2 separate regions of the Homo sapiens genome follow, and region 2 is linked to region 1. The links are contacts of gene promoters, found by promoter capture Hi-C in human tissues and cell types (Jung and others, 2019). All regions are on one chromosome and are shown on one strand. Each heading gives the region's core, a stretch centred on a gene start or on the middle of the fragment in contact. The rest is flanking DNA. Distances are from core to core; before and after follow the strand shown.

What was found. Contacts are between HindIII fragments. The study calls those that stand out against the background at their distance.
Region 2: a contact is called between the fragment with the promoter of HTT here and the fragment with the promoter of SLBP in region 1, in 1 of the 25 tissues and cell types used here (lymphoblastoid cells).

What each region holds. Positions count from the first base shown.
Region 1 is chr4:1,710,501-1,714,007 of GRCh38, forward strand. SLBP (stem-loop histone mRNA binding protein) reads right to left here and starts at 1,819. Exons shown (of 8, transcript NM_006527.4): 1 at 1,630-1,819; 2 at 1,374-1,490. The coding sequence starts at 1,688. RefSeq lists silencers at 1,196-1,315, 1,326-2,235 and an enhancer at 2,366-2,655. The HindIII fragment of the contact is 8,102 bases long and covers 1-3,047 here.
Region 2 is chr4:3,072,906-3,076,589 of GRCh38, forward strand. HTT (huntingtin) reads left to right here and starts at 1,776. Exons shown (of 67, transcript NM_001388492.1): 1 at 1,776-2,183. The coding sequence starts at 1,921. It also overlaps HTT-AS. RefSeq lists silencers at 832-1,451, 1,602-2,041, 2,152-2,221 and enhancers at 2,382-2,611, 2,622-2,671. The HindIII fragment of the contact is 13,196 bases long and covers 1-3,684 here.

The sequences.
Region 1 (3,507 bases), core at 569-3,068:
AGAACACGAAATTACAGAAAGAGTCTGTGGTCTGTGCCTTTCTCCAGAGATGACTGTCAGGGCTTCAATATTTAAAAGAGAAAAGTAGGTTGAAGGAGAAAGATCTACATGTTCCAAGAGAAAAGGAGCAGGTAGGGGAATAGTCAATTATGTATTCCTAGTGTGCTCAGTAAGTCGCCACTTAAAGTGAACAGAGTTCACCCGTGGAGATATTTAATCTTGTATCTGTAGGTATCTGCTTAGAAAAAAAAAAAGAAACACAAAGGTGGCCGGGCGCGGTGGCTCACACCTGTAATCCCAGCACTTTGGGTGGCCAAGGTGGGTGGATCACTTGAGGTCAGGAGTTCGACACCAGTCTGGTCAACATGGTGAAACCCTGTCTCTACTACAAATACAAAAAGTTAGCCGGGCGCGGTGGCATGCGCCTGTAATCCTAGCTGCTGGGGAGGCTGAGGCAGGAGAATCACTTGAACCCGGGAGGGGGAGGCTGCAGTGAGCCAAGATCGCGTCACCGCACTCCAGCCTGTGAGACAGAGTGAGACCCTGTCTTTAAAAAAAAAAAAAAAAAAAAAAAAGTAACGCAAAGGTAGTTTCTTGCATGATTCCGCGCTCAGCATAATTTTTTCCTTTTGGCACAGTGAAGTTGGGTCCGATTTTTTTTTTTCCTTTCACGCCTCCCATCCCCAACCCATCAGCAAGTCTCACAGGTCCTGCCTTCAGAAGCCTATCCCGAACCACGCATTTCCCTCCACCTTCACTGCTCCATCTCGGCCAAGTCACCACGCCTTTCAGGGAACTCAGGAGCAACAAGCCCCCAGTGCGGGACGAGCCACCCCAAAGCCCCTCGAGAAGTTTTCTCTAACCACAGCCCCGAAAAGCCCCGCCACTACGACCACTGGCACCCCTGCTTATTTCCTCCAGACCCTCCTCGGCCGTCCCACCCCATCAAGCCCTCCTTTCGCTCGCATCTCCACCCTCCCTGCACACTGCCTAACCCAGAAAATGGCCAAGCAGGTAAGCCCTGTCAACTCACTTCTCCTCGGGACTCGGGTGTCCCTGACTTCCACGTGTTCACGAGAAGCTCGTCAGAGACCCTGACCTCTCCCGGGAGCACAACACAGACTCGAACTGGCTAACTCGGGCTGACGCCGGTTCAGCTGACTCCCATCCTGGCAAGAGGCTTCCGGAGTGTTCCAGCGCCTCCCAGGCCTGCTGCGGCCGCCCCAGTCCACGGGCCGCGCGGAGACCAAGATAAAAGGACGCAGGGTGCCGACCTGACCGATCCCGGCACCGCGAGAGCGCGACGAGGTCCCTGGAGCCCGCGGCCTCGTCAAGGGCCCCACCGCGCCCCGACCCCCGGGTCCCGCGCCCACCTCTCGGGTCTGCGCTCGGCGCCGCGGTGCTCTGCCTCCTCGGCGTCTTCGGGCCTCCAGCGCCTGCCGTCGGCTCTGCGCTTCCGTCCCAGGCTCCATCGCGCGGGGGACGGCGGGCTGCGGGGAGGGACGCGGTCGGCTGGGCACGGGAGGTTCGGGACCGCCTTACAACCTCCGCCCTCCCACACCCCGGCCCCGCACAACCCCCGCCCCACGGGGCACGCGCTCCCTCGCCCGCCGCGCAGCCCGGCCTCACCTGGCGTCACCGTCGCAGCGGCTCTGATGCCTCGGCGGGCTTCGCGGGCGGCAGGCCATGGCAGCACGGGCCGGGCGCGCAGCGCAGGGCCGAGGCTGAGGCGGCGGCGGCGCGGGCAGAGAGCGCAGAGTAGAGCAGGGCAGGGCCTGAGGCAGAAACCCGCGTCCCCGCGCCGGCGCTCACGAGCTCTGCGCGCCCCGCCCCCAACCGCCTTTATGTGGGCGCCGGGCCCCGCCCCTCGGCCTCCCGCGCGCGCCGGGTCGGGCGAGACCATCGGGCCACGCCGCAGGGGTCCACTCAGCTGTGCGCGCCTCGCGAGCCGACTGGGGCTAGGGCGAGGCCTCGGGACCGCGGGCAGCCGCGAAGCCCGACTGCCCGGCCCTCGGCTCGGGAGCCAGATGGACGCCGTGGGCTGAGGAGAGGCCTGAGGAAAAGGTTGCCCCCACCCGCGGGATTGAGGCGGCCGGGCCGCCGCGGGCCTCTGCGACGCTGATAGGTCGCGCCTTGGCGGGCGGGGGCAGCTTTGGCGGGAGATTCGGCCGCGCGCGACGCGGCGCAGGTCGTGGGGGAAGGGTAAGCGGCACGTTTCTCGGCCTGGGTCGTGGCGCATCTCCCATTGGTTCCGGCCTGGGTGGAGCGCGGCTCTGCTTGGTTCCTGCCCAGGTGGGGGCGTGTCTCCTCCCTGGCGGGAACCCGGAACCCGGAACCCGGAAGGCGCGGCCTGTGGCGGGTACTGACTGCTTCCCACGGTCCCGTGGCCGCTGCAGGCCCCGTACGCGCCGTCTATTGTTTTGAGCCGCTTAAAGTTTTGGAGTAACCTTTTAGGTCGCAACAGTTGACAACTACACTGAGTCTTTCCGGTCCCACTGCCCTGGCCGTTGACCGCACACCGGCCACCGACTGAGCCGCTAGTTTCGGTTGCCGCTGCCTCCCTGCCCGTCCATGACGTCCTCCACTGTGTCGCCGGTGCATGACGCTCCCACCCTCTGCCTGGAGTTGACTGGGTTTGTATCCTGAAGAATCCCTGGCTCAGCAGGTAGGTTCCACCTGGAGGCGAGGTCCTGTAGATCCGCACCATCCCGTCCCGCTTCCCCGCCGTCACAGTTGCAGCTGACGGCCCCGCGGATCCAGCCAACTAGAACCCCAACGGGTGCACTACACCTGAGAACAGGTTCCCACAGCTTCCTGTTGGGGACAACGTGAGGGATGCAGGGGAGAGTGGAACCAGCCAAAAGAGTGGGCAGTGGGGTCAGGTCCAGGAGGCTGAGCCCCAGGGATGCTTGGGATCCCTCTAAGGCCTTACACCTCTGGGAGGGCCGGACTTTTGCACCTGCTGCCCTCAGGACTGTGCCTTGGTGCGTCCACCGCCCCCTTTTGAACTCAAAAAAGTCATCCTCAGACTAGGACGGACACATCCTGTCCCCTTCCTCCCCAGGCCCTGGGCATCCCATAACCCTCAACACTGTAAACTAAAAATAAAATCCTGGCAGGGCGCGGTGGCTCATGCCTGTAATTCCAACACTTTGGGAGGCCGAGGCGGGAGGATCATCTGAGGTTGGGAGTTCGAGACTAGCCTGACCAACATGGAGAAACCCTGTCTCTACTAAAAATACAAAATTAGCCTGGCATGGTGACGCATGCTTGTAATCCCAGCTACTCGGGTGGCTGAGGCAGGAGAATTGTTTGAACCCGGGAGGCAGTGGGCTAAGATTGCACCACTGTACTCCAACCTGGGCAACAAGAGCAGAACTCTGTCTCAAAAAAAATTAAAATCCTAAGCCCCCAACAACTGAATGGACCCCCTTGCGGTCAAGGGGACACCAGTGGCAATAAGATACCAAATTATGAATAGGACCTAAGGTCATGCCAGGCAAGGGT
Region 2 (3,684 bases), core at 526-3,025, 1.4 Mb after region 1:
GCGTGAGCCACCGCACCTCGCTGGAACTTAATTTTTTTAGAGACAGTGTCGCTCTATCACCCAAGCTGGAGTGCAGTGGTGCAATCCTAGCTCACTTGCAGCCTCAAATTCCTGGGTTCAGGTGATCCTCCCACATCAGCCTCCCAAGAACTGGGAACTAACAGCTGTTTCTCTGCTGTCCTTCTCAAGAAAAGGGAGGCTACTGCTACCCCACTGGGGACAATGCTGGGTTTCCCTTTAGGACAGGCTCTGAGACAAGGCGGAGGTGCTGTTTGTGGCCACAGAGCAGGGGACTCTGGGTTGCAGGTGTGGCCTGGCTAAAGTAGGCTTTACTGGGCTCCTCTCTGCCTGCATCACCCCCCGGCTGGGCGGTTGTCTCTGAGGCCAACCTTACTCCCTGCTGGGCAGGCTGGACAGCTGCCCTCTCCGTTTGCCCCTCTACCACCCAAAAGGCAGGAGGCTCTGGAGACCAGGACCCTGCCCGCCACGGCCTGTGTCCCAGGCGTGAGGGGGTGCCCCACAGACCTCTGCTGAGCTGCTGCTGAATGACGCCCCTTGGGGGTCCTGCCGGAAGGTCAGAGCAGGGGTGCACTCCCATAAAGAAACGCCCCCAGGTCGGGACTCATTCCTGTGGGCGGCATCTTGTGGCCATAGCTGCTTCTCGCTGCACTAATCACAGTGCCTCTGTGGGCAGCAGGCGCTGACCACCCAGGCCTGCCCCAGACCCTCTCCTCCCTTCCGGGGCGCTGCGCTGGGACCGATGGGGGGCGCCAGGCCTGTGGACACCGCCCTGCAGGGGCCTCTCCAGCTCACTGGGGGTGGGGTGGGGGTCACACTTGGGGTCCTCAGGTCGTGCCGACCACGCGCATTCTCTGCGCTCTGCGCAGGAGCTCGCCCACCCTCTCCCCGTGCAGAGAGCCCCGCAGCTGGCTCCCCGCAGGGCTGTCCGGGTGAGTATGGCTCTGGCCACGGGCCAGTGTGGCGGGAGGGCAAACCCCAAGGCCACCTCGGCTCAGAGTCCACGGCCGGCTGTCGCCCCGCTCCAGGCGTCGGCGGGGGATCCTTTCCGCATGGGCCTGCGCCCGCGCTCGGCGCCCCCTCCACGGCCCCGCCCCGTCCATGGCCCCGTCCTTCATGGGCGAGCCCCTCCATGGCCCTGCCCCTCCGCGCCCCACCCCTCCCTCGCCCCACCTCTCACCTTCCTGCCCCGCCCCCAGCCTCCCCACCCCTCACCGGCCAGTCCCCTCCCCTATCCCGCTCCGCCCCTCAGCCGCCCCGCCCCTCAGCCGGCCTGCCTAATGTCCCCGTCCCCAGCATCGCCCCGCCCCGCCCCCGTCTCGCCCCGCCCCTCAGGCGGCCTCCCTGCTGTGCCCCGCCCCGGCCTCGCCACGCCCCTACCTCACCACGCCCCCCGCATCGCCACGCCCCCCGCATCGCCACGCCTCCCTTACCATGCAGTCCCGCCCCGTCCCTTCCTCGTCCCGCCTCGCCGCGACACTTCACACACAGCTTCGCCTCACCCCATTACAGTCTCACCACGCCCCGTCCCCTCTCCGTTGAGCCCCGCGCCTTCGCCCGGGTGGGGCGCTGCGCTGTCAGCGGCCTTGCTGTGTGAGGCAGAACCTGCGGGGGCAGGGGCGGGCTGGTTCCCTGGCCAGCCATTGGCAGAGTCCGCAGGCTAGGGCTGTCAATCATGCTGGCCGGCGTGGCCCCGCCTCCGCCGGCGCGGCCCCGCCTCCGCCGGCGCAGCGTCTGGGACGCAAGGCGCCGTGGGGGCTGCCGGGACGGGTCCAAGATGGACGGCCGCTCAGGTTCTGCTTTTACCTGCGGCCCAGAGCCCCATTCATTGCCCCGGTGCTGAGCGGCGCCGCGAGTCGGCCCGAGGCCTCCGGGGACTGCCGTGCCGGGCGGGAGACCGCCATGGCGACCCTGGAAAAGCTGATGAAGGCCTTCGAGTCCCTCAAGTCCTTCCAGCAGCAGCAGCAGCAGCAGCAGCAGCAGCAGCAGCAGCAGCAGCAGCAGCAGCAGCAACAGCCGCCACCGCCGCCGCCGCCGCCGCCGCCTCCTCAGCTTCCTCAGCCGCCGCCGCAGGCACAGCCGCTGCTGCCTCAGCCGCAGCCGCCCCCGCCGCCGCCCCCGCCGCCACCCGGCCCGGCTGTGGCTGAGGAGCCGCTGCACCGACCGTGAGTTTGGGCCCGCTGCAGCTCCCTGTCCCGGCGGGTCCCAGGCTACGGCGGGGATGGCGGTAACCCTGCAGCCTGCGGGCCGGCGACACGAACCCCCGGCCCCGCAGAGACAGAGTGACCCAGCAACCCAGAGCCCATGAGGGACACCCGCCCCCTCCTGGGGCGAGGCCTTCCCCCACTTCAGCCCCGCTCCCTCACTTGGGTCTTCCCTTGTCCTCTCGCGAGGGGAGGCAGAGCCTTGTTGGGGCCTGTCCTGAATTCACCGAGGGGAGTCACGGCCTCAGCCCTCTCGCCCTTCGCAGGATGCGAAGAGTTGGGGCGAGAACTTGTTTCTTTTTATTTGCGAGAAACCAGGGCGGGGGTTCTTTTAACTGCGTTGTGAAGAGAACTTGGAGGAGCCGAGATTTGCTCAGTGCCACTTCCCTCTTCTAGTCTGAGAGGGAAGAGGGCTGGGGGCGCGGGACACTTCGAGAGGAGGCGGGGTTTGGAGCTGGAGAGATGTGGGGGCAGTGGATGACATAATGCTTTTAGGACGCCTCGGCGGGAGTGGCGGGGCAGGGGGGGGGCGGGGAGTGAGGGCGCGTCCAATGGGAGATTTCTTTTCCTAGTGGCACTTAAAACAGCCTGAGATTTGAGGCTCTTCCTACATTGTCAGGACATTTCATTTAGTTCATGATCACGGTGGTAGTAACACGATTTTAAGCACCACCTAAGAGATCTGCTCATCTAAGCCTAAGTTGGTCTGCAGGCGTTTGAATGAGTTGTGGTTGCCAAGTAAAGTGGTGAACTTACGTGGTGATTAATGAAATTATCTTAAATATTAGGAAGAGTTGATTGAAGTTTTTTGCCTATGTGTGTTGGGAATAAAACCAACACGTTGCTGATGGGGAGGTTAATTGCCGAGGGATGAATGAGGTGTACATTTTACCAGTATTCCAGTCAGGCTTGCCAGAATACGGGGGGTCCGCAGACTCCGTGGGCATCTCAGATGTGCCAGTGAAAGGGTTTCTGTTTGCTTCATTGCTGACAGCTTGTTACTTTTTGGAAGCTAGGGGTTTCTGTTGCTTGTTCTTGGGGAGAATTTTTGAAACAGGAAAAGAGAGACCATTAAAACATCTAGCGGAACCCCAGGACTTTCCCTGGAAGTCTGTGTGTCGAGTGTACAGTAGGAGTTAGGAAGTACTCTGGTGCAGTTCAGGCCTTTCTCTTACCTCTCAGTATTCTATTTCCGATCTGGATGTGTCCCAGATGGCATTTGGTAAGAATATCTCTGTTAAGACTGATTAATTTTTAGTAATATTTCTTGTTCTTTGTTTCTGTTATGATCCTTGTCTCGTCTTCAAAGTTTAATTAGAAAATGATTCGGAGAGCAGTGTTAGCTTATTTGTTGGAATAAAATTTAGGAATAAATTATTCTAAAGGATGGAAAAACTTTTTGGATATTTGGAGAAATTTTAAAACAATTTGGCTTATCTCTTCAGTAAGTAATTTCTCATCC